3 separate regions of the Homo sapiens genome follow, and regions 1 and 2 are each linked to region 3. Evidence: promoter capture Hi-C in 16 types of primary human blood cells and fetal thymus (Javierre and others, 2016). All regions are on one chromosome and are shown on one strand. The core of a region is centred on a gene start or on the middle of the fragment in contact, and the rest is flanking DNA. Distances in the headings are between cores, read along the strand shown. Region 1 holds the start of CPNE9 (copine family member 9). Region 2 holds the start of FANCD2OS (FANCD2 opposite strand). Region 3 holds the start of CIDEC (cell death inducing DFFA like effector c).

Region 1 (3,566 bases), core at 194-2,693, 180 kb after region 3:
AGGCCAAGTCAGGGGCTGCTGGGGGCAGGGTTGTGTGGAAGGGGTCGGGCCTGAGGTGGAGCTGCGATAGGAGCAGAGTTGTGGGCGGGGCCAGAGCGGGGGACGGAACTGGACCGCATCTCATAAAAGGGCAGGGCTCAGGCTAGAGGGGGCCATTCAGAATGGGAGGGAGGCCTGCGAGAAGAACCAGGCCGGAGGCGAGGCGGGGGTGGGGCCAGCCAGAATTCCGGGCGGATCCAGGTCGGGGGCGGGCCAAGCCAGAATTCCAGGCGGGGCCTCACACATCGAAGCGCAGATTTTGCTTTTCCTCAAAGAAATAGTCGAGGACGAATTTGCGCACGAAGTCTGGGTTCAGCGTGTTATCAATCACCTCGGTCCGTCCGAACTGGGTAGGGGGGTGGAGGGTCAGCGTGGGACGTGCAGACGGGCAGGGGAATTCCCGGGCGACGCCCTGGGCCGGGAGGGGGCTCTGGGACTCACCTCCCGCCACTCCTGGCTGGCCCGGCTCTGCGTGTAAAGCACCACCACTGCAGGTGGGGGCGGGGAGGGAAGGACGTCAGGTCGGCTCCCACCCCTGGCCCCGACTCCACCCGCCCCTGAGTCGCGCCCAGACCCCAAGTTCCCCCTCCCGGTCCTGGAGCCGCCTACTGGGGTCGGACTTGGAGAAGGTATCAAGGTCTAGCAGGTTCCTAGAGAAAAGCAACAGACAGACAGAGTGGATCATCCTGGAGTCCGCCCGCCTCGAGTCGGCTCTGAGCCGGGCACTGAGGAGAGGCATGGGGCCCGCATCGAACCTCTGTCCCCCATGGCTACCCCCAGCCGGGGTCCGCTCTGTCAGCACTCTGGACAGCACCGGAAATCGCTGTCCAGGAACCATGGCTCTGCGGACTGGACGCGAACGCACCCACACTGTCTCCAAGGGCCCAGGAAAGAGGGCTCGCCCCAGAACTTTGTCCTCCTGGGGCCGAGCTCCTACCGGATATCTGCGACCCACCCCCTGAACCCGCAGGCTGAGCCCTTTTTTCGGGGTGGGGCTGCCCAAGACCCCCCGCTTCTCGATCCCACCAGCTACTCGCCCTGTCATCAGCTGTGATTTTCCAGCCAATTTCGCCTCTCCCCGGGGGTCTAGCCCCTGCCCAGGCTGAGCCCCGCGGCTGGCTGGGGCTGGGGCAGTGCCAGTGCCTAAGCCCTCCCCAGCGCGGCCCGCTCACCGGCAGGACACGGTAATTTCAATCTTGGTGGCCGGGACGCTGCGCTCGGAGGCTCCGCCGAGAGACATGGCTGGTCGGGCGACCAGAGCCGCAGGAGGCTGCGAGACCAGGGCTGCTGGGGCTAGGGGCGACGGCAGCGGCGGGGCCGGCCCATGTGCCGCGGTGTCGGCGGCGGCGGCGGCTGCACTCGCTCCAGCCCTGCGTGCGCTCCAGCCGCTCGCGCCCTGACAGTGGCCGCCGGCGGCAGCGGCTCCAGATGGCAGCACAGCCCCGCCCGGCCCTGCGGGCGGCCCCCGCCCCATTGGAGCAGCCTGGAGCCAGCGGGGAACCTCACCCCGACTCCCAACTCCAACCCACACCTTGGTAGAGTCTGCCCTGCGCAAGTCTCTGGGGTGGAAACCCAAGCCCCCTAGAGTTGTCCATGATGCTGAAACATTTGGGGCACCTGGTGGGCACTGGAATTGTTGCCTCTTACTGAGCCACTCCCTTAGTGTTTCTGTCTTTTCCCACTCCCAGCCTGCCTAGGTCTCTGAATAGGAAAAGTACATCTCTTAGTAGCTGTGTGACCTTGGACAAGTTACTCAACATCTCTGTGGCTCAACCGTGAAAGGCCGTCAGAAAGGCCTTTAACAGCAGCTACTTTAGGTGCTGTAAAATTTTACTGAGATAACCCAAGGAAAACACTTAGCACACAGCAAGTGCTCAGTAAACATTCACTGGTATTTATGATTTGTCCTCTGGGTATTCACAATGATGACAGTAAATGGTGGCTGTTGAGCACCGTGCAAAGCTGTCTGCCCATGCCTTTAACCCTCACGACTTTCATGGCGTTACAGATGCGGACACACTCTCATGACGCAATCTACTGTAGGTTACACTGTAGAAGAGGGTGGTGGTCAGCCAGGCTCTCACCCACCACACATGCACACCAATTGCTATCTCCAAAGCTTCAGAAGCCAGTCCTTCCTCCATAGGCAGGGCTCAAGGTAGGGGATGCAGGTCACCCGTACCAGGACCCTGCTGCCTACAGAACTTGTTAAAGATGAAGATCCTGGTCAGGTACGGTGGCTCATGCCTGTAATCCCAGCACTTTAGGAGGCCAAGGCAGGCAGATCACTTGAGCTCAGGAGTTTGAGACTGGCCTGGCCAACATGGTGAAACCCCATCTCTACTAAATACAAAAATTAGCTGGGGATGGTGGCACGTTCACGTAGCTACTCAGGAGACTGAGGCAGGAGGATCGCTTGAACCCAGGAGGCAGGGGTTGCAGTGAGCCAAGATTGTGCCATTGCACTCCAGCTTGGGTAACAGTGAGACTCCATCTCAAAAAATCTGAAAAAAATGAAGATCCTCCAGCTCCTAATTCCCAGGCAACTTCCTTAGCAACCCTAAGGCTAAAGCTCAGGCAGCCCTGGGAATGTGCACAGCTCATCAGGCTCTCTAGGTGACTAGGACCTGCTTAGGCCCGAGAACCACTACTCTCAACAGTCTTGAGTGTTGTCCCCACTGCAGGGACTACCATGGCTCATGAGTGGAGAGGTATACCTGTCGCCAGTTCTCTTCCTGTTTCACCTGCCCTCCACATAAAAACCCCTTGTCCAGCACAAGGAAGGACAATGAGAACCTTCCTAGTAGCTCCACAAAGACAATAACCAAATGATGACACAAGAGTGGCTATTCAAAAAGACTTTGATTTTATTTTGTGATCTGTGTCAAACTGCCTCATTCTCAGTGCAGGTGATCCCTCCTCCCCAGAAACAAGAACTGACAGGTAGGGTCTTTGTGAAGTCATGGCTTCCACAAGGCCCCAGGGAAACCCCACACAGTTCTGAGAGTTGATGGGAATCCCAGCAAAGATGGGGTGGGTGGGAGACAGTGACAAGAAGGGGTGGTGGTCACCAGTCAAGAGGCTGGGGGTTGGAAAACCCTGTCTTTGGCCTTGCTCAGCTTTGGGGCTGCCATGTTCATGATGGAGATGGGGGACTGAAATTTCCCCTGACCTGGAAGTACCCCTTCGGCCAGGCATGGCTTTGATTCTCTGCTAAGGGCTCAGCTGAGAGAGGAGCAGGAAAATGTCATGGGCTGGCTTCTTCACAAGGCATTGCTGCTGATGCTCCGGAGTCCAACACCACGGGCAAATTGCTCCAGCAGGCCCCCGATGGCACCGGAAGGACTGGGGGCTACTGCCCGAAGCCCCACTGTGCTGCTGTACGCAGCCAAGAAGGCTGAGCGCACCTCCTGCAGCCGAGTCTCTCGATCACTCAGGGCTGCAAGCCTATGGGGAGGTCAAGAGAAAGAACAAAGACATTACCCTGGGACAGGACCCAGTATCCTCATCCTCCCTCCCTCCATACC
Region 2 (3,554 bases), core at 493-2,992, 230 kb before region 3:
ACAAAAAAATTAGCCGGGCGTGGTGGCTGGTGCCTGTAGTCCCAGCTACTCAGGAGGCTGAGGCAGGAGAATGGTGTGAACCCGGGAGGCAGAGCTTGCAATGAGTGGAGATCACGCCACTGCACTCCAGTCTGGGTGACAGAGTGAGACTCCATCTCAAAAAAAAAAGTCTTTTTTATTCAAGAGGGAAATAAAGCCAGTGTGGTGGCTCACGCCTGTAATCCCACCACATTGGGAGGCCGAGGTGCACAGGTCACGAGGTCAGGAGTTCGAGACCTGCCTGGCCAACATGGGAAACCCCGTCTCTACTAAAAACACAAAAATTAGCTGGGCCTGGTGGCACGCGCCTGTAATCCCAGCTACTCGGGAGGCTGAGACAGGAGAATCGCTTGAACCCAGGAGGTGAAGGTTGCAGTGACCCAAGATCAAGCCACTGCACTCCAGCCTGGGTGACACGGTGAGACTCCGTCTCAAAAAAAGAAAGAAAAAAAAAGAGGGAAATAAAAATGAACTAACTGGGGAAAAAAGTTTTGTAATTCAAAATCATTTGTGTCTCTTCCAAGTCTCACTATTCTGTGCCTCTCTCTTCATGTTCTGACCCGACATGCCCTCCAGACTCTTCTCCACTTACCTCTTCTTCCAAAAGGTGCACATGTACACACAGTGGGTGTGTGTCTTCTAAATCAGGATCTTGCCTGACTCTATTCTCAGACCCTCAGTCTTTCTCCATCAGCTTTACCCAAAAAACCAGAACAAAGGTGACAAGTCTTATTTGTGGTGTGTGTTCTATAGTTTGTAAAATGCAAGGGCAATTCTGGGTGTACAAGGGAAGGCCAAGTAGGCCATTAGTTACTTCCTCCCACAAATACTGCACACTGCCAGACATGGCAATAGCCAGGTACTGGGAATACAGACATCAGCTGGGTAGACTCCTCCCTTCCCTCAGCCATCCAGGGTCATTATTTTAAGTGATGATTACAAAGTTGTCAAATCACTCCTTCACTAATATGGCGAAAGTGTATTTCTGCATTATAAGAATGAGACAAAATCATTCTTTTTGAGATTTTTTTGTTTTCTTTTTGAGCTGGGAATCTCACTACGTTGCCCAGACTGGTCTTGAACTCCTGGGCTCAAGCAGTCTACCCATCTCAGCCACCTAGATAGCTGGGATTACAGGTACTCTCAGGTTTAACGCAAGGCTGAGAAAGGTTTTCTGTCAGGAAATCAAGGAAAGACGTGCGTTTCCTCCTGCTCTTGACAGGTGAACATTTATTAATTCTCTTTCTTTGCCACTGGGATCATTCAAATAGAGCAACAAAACCTGACAGAGCTCTGGGTCACTCTGCCTGAGCACCCACTGAGCAGAGTGTGATGAGTTGGGACTAACTTTTAACACTAACTACAGGTCCTGGGACTTTTATGCAGGCCTCTGACCATGGCCATTGAAGTAGGGGTCGCCTGTCCTCTGTGGCTTGATCAAAGGCACACAGGTACACAGGTGTGGCACGGTAGGGAGGAGGACAATGGAGGGGACAGGATTCGGACCAGCCCTCCTGAAGGCCAAGTCCTGGACAAGGCATTCCAATGAGGTGGGGGCGGGGAGTGTGGCCCTGACGCCTCCCAGTAGGGCGCCTCGAGCCCCCATCCCCGCCGCGGCTCGGGCTGCCCTGCCGTCCTGGGTCACAAAGGCGGTTGCCAGGCGCCACGAACAGCGGCCGCCACTTTGGAGCGTGAGACCCTCAGAGTTCAGCAGGTGAGCCCCGGGCCCGGATGGTGGGACTGGGCCCAGGTTCCCACCGCATCGTCCGCCTCAGCCAGAACCTTCTGGTCCCCGCCCCCGGATAGGGACCCAGGAGGCCCAAGCCCCTTCTTCCGGCGGGGAGTGGGAGCCTCTCGCACTCTCGGCAGCTCCAGACCCTCGGGATCTCCGTTTACAGTTCAGGACCTCAGCTGCACTTTGGCGCTAACGCCCTGTTTCCCAGGTGGGGAAATCAAGAGATGGGGTTCCTTGGAATGGGAAGTGGGGTGTGAAGGGGAAACCTTTTTGGCCAGGAGAATCAGGTGTTCCATATCTGGGAGCTATTGAGCAGCTTGAGCAGACTTTGTAGGTTCAAGCCCTTCTGGAGTGGTTGACAGTGACTTCTGGGCGGTGGGGATGGGGTGAACCATCTTTAAACTTTGTGCGAAGAGGTGCAGGGACCTAGGTTTAGAAGCGCTCTCGTCCCATGTTGGTTCTGCCGAATATTTAGGCTGACTCCTGACCTCAAGTGATTGGCCCGCCTTGGCCTCCCAAAGTGCTGTGATTGCAGGCCTGAGCCACCGCGCCGCGACCTAGGCTGGACATTTGACAAAGACTTTTACTTCTACCTCTACTTCCTCTTAGAAGATGTGGCAAGAAAAGGATCCGGGGGGCCCGGGCCCGGTGGCTCACGCCTGTAATCCCAGCACTTTGGGAGGCCGAGACGGGCGGATCACGAGGTCAGGAGATCGAGACCATCCTGGCTAACACGGTGAAACCCTGTCTCTACTGAAAATACAAAAAAATTAGCCGGGCGTGGTGGCAGGCGCCTGTAGTCCCAGCTACGGGAGGCTGAGGCAGGAGAATGGCGTGAACCCGGGAGGCGGAGCTTGCAGTGAGCGGAGATCGCGCCACTGCACTCCAGACTGAGTGACAGAGCAAGGCTCTGTCTCAAAAAAAAAAGAAAGAAAGAAAGAAAAGGATCCTGGGATTAAATACTTTTTTAAATCCCATATTCTGGGATTAAAAATATGCTTGACAGCATTCATACCCTCCGCCCACCTTGCCATGGTGGTGTACCACAGTAGTCCCTCTCTTGGATATGTGCTCTGAAGGTCAAGATATCAAGCACCAGAAGCCTTTCACAGGGTGTTTGGAATAGATAACTGTCCCTTGGGTGTCCCTTTCTCATTCTAAGGCAGCCCAGATATTTGAACACTTAGTACTTTGCAAAGAGCCTACATAGATCATGAGAAACATACTAGTTGGAGAAAATCAACAAATCCCCCTATACTAACCATTGTCAGGAGCAGGTCTTCTGGTCTGAAATGTCACCAACGTTTTTTTCTTTTTTGAGACGGAGTCTCCCTCTGTCACCCAAGCTGGAGTTCAATGGCTTGATCCCGGCTCACCGCAGCCTCCATTCAAGTGATTCTCCTGCTTCGGCCTCCTGAGTACCCGGGATTACAGGCACCCACCACCACGCCTGGCTAATTTTTGTATTTTTAGTAGAGACGGGGTTTCACCCTGTTGGCCAGGCTGGTCTTGAACTCCTGACCTCAAGTGATCCACCCACCTCGGCCTCCCAAAGTGCTGGGATTACAGGTGTGAGCCACTGTGCCCGGCCAACAGTTCTTTTTTTAAAACGAACTTTTCTATCTCACAAACGGCGGTGAAGGTGTCAAAATTTTCACAGTATTTCTGGGGCAATTACTGGATAGGATGAGATCTGCTGCTATCTTCTGTGGGAGAAGAAGGGGCAGAGAAATACACTTGGCTAGAAAGAAAAGGGACCTGCTATGCCCACTAACAAAAT
Region 3 (3,815 bases), core at 389-2,888:
CCTATGGATATTCACATACAAGTTTTTGTGTAGACATATTTTTCATTTCTTTTGGATATGTATGTGTATATATATATGTGTGTGTGTATATATATACACATATATATGTAATTTTGTTTGGTTTTGGTTTTGTTTCTTTTCTTTTGTAAAGACAGGGTCTCCCTATGTTACTCAGGCTAAATTTTAATTCCTGGGCTCAAGTGATCCTCCTGCATCAGCCTCCTTCTGAGCAGCTGGGACAACAGGTGTGCTCTGTATGACACACATACACCACACGCACACACACAGAAGTGGAACTGCTGGGTCAGAGATCTTACACTCTTAACCACTCCACATTTCAGCTTGTCTTACTCTCTGCTATGATTTAATATGTACATTATCAAATTGAGAAAAAGACAAAAAAATTAAAAATAATAAAATAAAAATAAAAAATTATCAGTAATACTAATAATCACTTCGATCCATTGAGTGTTTATGTTTGCAAAGCCTTTATTTTTATTTATTTTTATTTTTTTGAGACAGAGTCTCACTCTGTCACCCAGGCTGGAGTGCAGTGGCGTGATCTCGGCTCACTGCAACCTCTGCCTCCCGGGTTCAAATGATTCTCCTGCCTCAGCCTCCTGAGTAGCTGGGATTTCAGGCACCCACCACCACGCACGGCTAATTTTTGTATATTTAGTAGAGATGGGGTTTTCGCCATATTGACCAAGCTGGTCTCGAACTCTTGACCTTGTGATCTGCCCACCTCGGCCTCCCAAAGTTCTGGGATTAGAGGTGTGAGCCACCGTGCCCGGACTTTTTTTTTTTTTTTTTTTTTTTTGAGACAGGGTCTCACTCTGTCACCCAGAATGGAGTGCAGTGGTGTGATCTAAGCTCACCGCAACCTCTGCCTCCCAGGCTCAAGCGATTCTCCTGCCTCAGCCTCCCAGATAGCTGGGATTACAGGCACACACCACCACGCCTGGCTCATTTTTCTATTTTTAGTAGAGACGGGGCTTCACCATGTTGGCCATGCTGGTCTCAAACTCCTGACCTCAAGTGATCCACCTGCCTCGGCCTCCCAAAGTGCTGGGATTACAGGCGTGAGCCACGGCACCCAGGCTACTTTTTTCTTTTTTCTTTTCTTTTCTTTTTTTTTTTTTTTTTCAGAGACAGGGTCTCACTCTATTGCCCAGGCTGTCCTCCAACCCCTGTCCTCAAGCAATCCTCCCGCCTCAGCCTCCCAAAACACTGGGATTATAGGCATGAGCCACTGTGCCCCTTTACTTTTATTGTCACTAATCCTCACCACTACCCTATAAAACAAGAATCATTATCGTCATTACACAGAGAAGAGAAACGGGCTCACAGAAGTCAAGTGATCTGTCTAAGCTCAAGCAAGCTGATATGGGGTGGAGTTGGGACCACAACCCACATCTGCCTGCTTTCTGTGCCCTCTGTGCTTGATCTCATGTCATGGGCCATCCATTTTGCCAAAGCTTTCGAAACATGCCTTCTCCCCTCCTTTTAGGCCTTTTCTGGAAGTCAGGCTGGCTTGCAGCTCTCACCCCAAGCTCTTTTCCCCAGCTGGGGCTGAAGGCTGGGGAGGAGCTTCATGGGGGCTGGAAATAAATGAAGGGAGGGCTGGGCGGGACAGGGCAGTATTTCCAGGAGGCTGTGAGGGGGAGGTAAGGAGTTTGTTATTGTTTTGGGTTTGGGGATTTTTTTTTCTTTGCTCCTGGAGAGCAGGTTAGGTAGCTCTTGGCAGAGTTTTGCTAGGGATACGAAGTGGGTGAGGCTGAGGCAAGCAGAATCCTCCTGCCTCAGCCTCCCACGTAGCTAGGACTAGAGCTTCTGCAGTGCTAAGTGGGAAAGGGGCTTTCTGCCTCTGTGGGGCCTGGTCTGGAAAGTCCCCCAAATTGTTAAAAGCAAAGAGTGATTGTCCCCAGCTGGCAAGGGGACTTTTGTTTTATGTCCACCCCTTGTGCCCCTTGCTCTGCGAAGCCCTACCTGTGCCGGGAGCTTCGAATAGGAAGAGGACCTCAGGGCCAGGCATCCAGGGACTGAGGGGCTACAGCAGAAACAGACCCAGAGGCACCCTTGGCTAGGAAGAGCAGGATGAAGGTGTAATAATTTTGGGAGTGGTCTAAGAAGACTTTCCTTTTAAAGAGTGGAAAGCAATGAAACTGAGGCTTCAAGGCTGCAAAAATTTCGTCCTGGATCAGAGAAGGGCACTACAGGTGGAGGGAACTATCTGTGCAAAGGGTTGGGCCCTTCAAGAGTTGGAGCACAGAGGTTTAGGAGAAAAAGTGGTGACAGATGAGCCCAGGGCTATCTGCTTAGACCTGTGATCTAATATGGGTGCCAACAGCCACATGGCAATGTGGCTATTTAAATTTAAATTAGTTAAAATTCAATAAAGTAAAAAATACAGCTCCTGTGCCAGGTGCAGTGGCTCACGCCTGTAATCCCCGCACTTTGGGAGGCCAAGACAGGGAGATCACCTGAGGTCAGGAGTTCAAGACCAGCCTAGCCAACATGGTGAAACCCAGTCTCTACTAAAAATCCAAACAAAACGAAACTAAACTAAAAATTAGCTGGGCGTGGTGGCAGGTGCCTGTAATCCCAGCTACGGGGGAGGCTGAGGCAGGATAATTGCTTGAACCCAGGAGGCGGAGGTTGTAGTGAGCAAGATCGCCCCATTGCACTCCAGCCTGGGTGACAAGAGCGAAACTCAAAAAAAAAAAAAATTCAGCTCCTGAATCACACTAGTTATGTTTCAAATACTCAATAGCCACATGGGGCTAGTAGCAATGGTATTGGAGAGTATGTACAAGGCATGCCTCTATCATCACAGAATGTTCTTTTGGCCACTGTGAAGCCTCAGGAAGGGGCTCGGATTGCTCAAGGACCCATGGGAGAGAGGAGGCTTTGACTGGGCTGCCTGCCTGTGAGGTCTCTGGACTAGAGGTGAGGGAACGGTCCCCAGAAGTGTGAGGTGGTGTGACTCACCTCCTGCCAGCGTAAAGTGGACTCTGTCCCCATGGACAGGAACAAATCGGGCAAGGCTTCTTCAGCCCTGAGTTGGGTTATCTGCTCAGTGTGACCAGAGCCAGGGGATGAGAAACATGGAGTGAGTGGGACTGGGGCAGGAGCAGCAGCTGCTGAGTGAGGCTGAGCCTGAGCACCCGGTGGGGAGAGGGGTGGGGTCTCCAGCTTGGTCTTGGTTGGCATGCATGGGGCCGGACAGGAGAAGGGCTGGGGGAGGTATGTGTGAGTTGGGATAGAAGAATAGGGAGGAAGGTTGCTGAACAGGGGTTGGGTTGCACCTTGCCTAACAATGAGAGAGATGGGAACCCTCTCATCTCACCCTGATGAATTGTTTCTGCCTCCTTCCCAGGTCCAACGCAGTCCAGCTGACAAGGATGGAATACGCCATGAAGTCCCTTAGCCTTCTCTACCCCAAGTCCCTCTCCAGGTGAGGAAAGTCATGGGCAGAATGGAAAGAGAGCCACCTATGAGCTGTAAGCCAGAACTTCTCAAACTTTAATGGGTATACAGGTCACAGGGGACCTTGTTCAAGTGCAGATTCTGATTCAGGAGGTCTGGAGTGGGACCCGAGATTTTGCACTGCCAAGAAGTCCCTGGGTGATATTAATGCTGCTGCTTACACCACCACCACACCATGCATAAAAAGGAGTAGACACTATGCTTGGTGCTTTTACTCCTGATCTCATGTAAGCCTCACAACAACTTTGGGAAGTGGGGGTTATTATACCAAATTAATAGGTGAGAGAACTGAGGCACATAGTGGGTGCTCTCAATCACCCAGCAAA

Evidence for each region. Contacts are between HindIII fragments. The CHiCAGO score rates a contact against its expected background, and 5 or more counts as called.
Region 1: the fragment with the promoter of CPNE9 here is called in contact with the fragment with the promoter of CIDEC in region 3 in 5 of 17 cell types (monocytes, erythroblasts, neutrophils and 2 more); the score reaches 7.4 in monocytes.
Region 2: a contact is called between the fragment with the promoter of FANCD2OS here and the fragment with the promoter of CIDEC in region 3, in 5 of 17 cell types (activated CD4 T cells, monocytes, erythroblasts and 2 more). The highest score is 8.8, in activated CD4 T cells.

What each region holds. Positions count from the first base shown.
Region 1 is chr3:9,701,710-9,705,275 of GRCh38, reverse strand. It overlaps CPNE9 (copine family member 9), which reads right to left and starts at 1,443. Exons shown (of 21, transcript NM_153635.3): 1 at 1,212-1,443; 2 at 649-689; 3 at 481-527; 4 at 282-385. The coding sequence starts at 1,279. It overlaps MTMR14 (myotubularin related protein 14), which reads right to left. Exons shown (of 19, transcript NM_001077525.3): 19 at 2,883-3,486. The coding sequence ends at 3,303. RefSeq lists an enhancer at 894-1,804. The HindIII fragment of the contact is 18,760 bases long and covers 1-2,160 here.
Region 2 is chr3:10,106,443-10,109,996 of GRCh38, reverse strand. FANCD2OS (FANCD2 opposite strand) reads left to right here and starts at 1,742. Exons shown (of 2, transcript NM_001164839.2): 1 at 1,742-1,982. The HindIII fragment of the contact is 5,627 bases long and covers 1-3,554 here.
Region 3 is chr3:9,878,076-9,881,890 of GRCh38, reverse strand. CIDEC (cell death inducing DFFA like effector c) reads left to right here and starts at 1,638. Exons shown (of 7, transcript NM_001321142.2): 1 at 1,638-1,667; 2 at 2,837-2,949; 3 at 3,380-3,457. The coding sequence starts at 3,405. The HindIII fragment of the contact is 5,760 bases long and covers 1,481-3,815 here.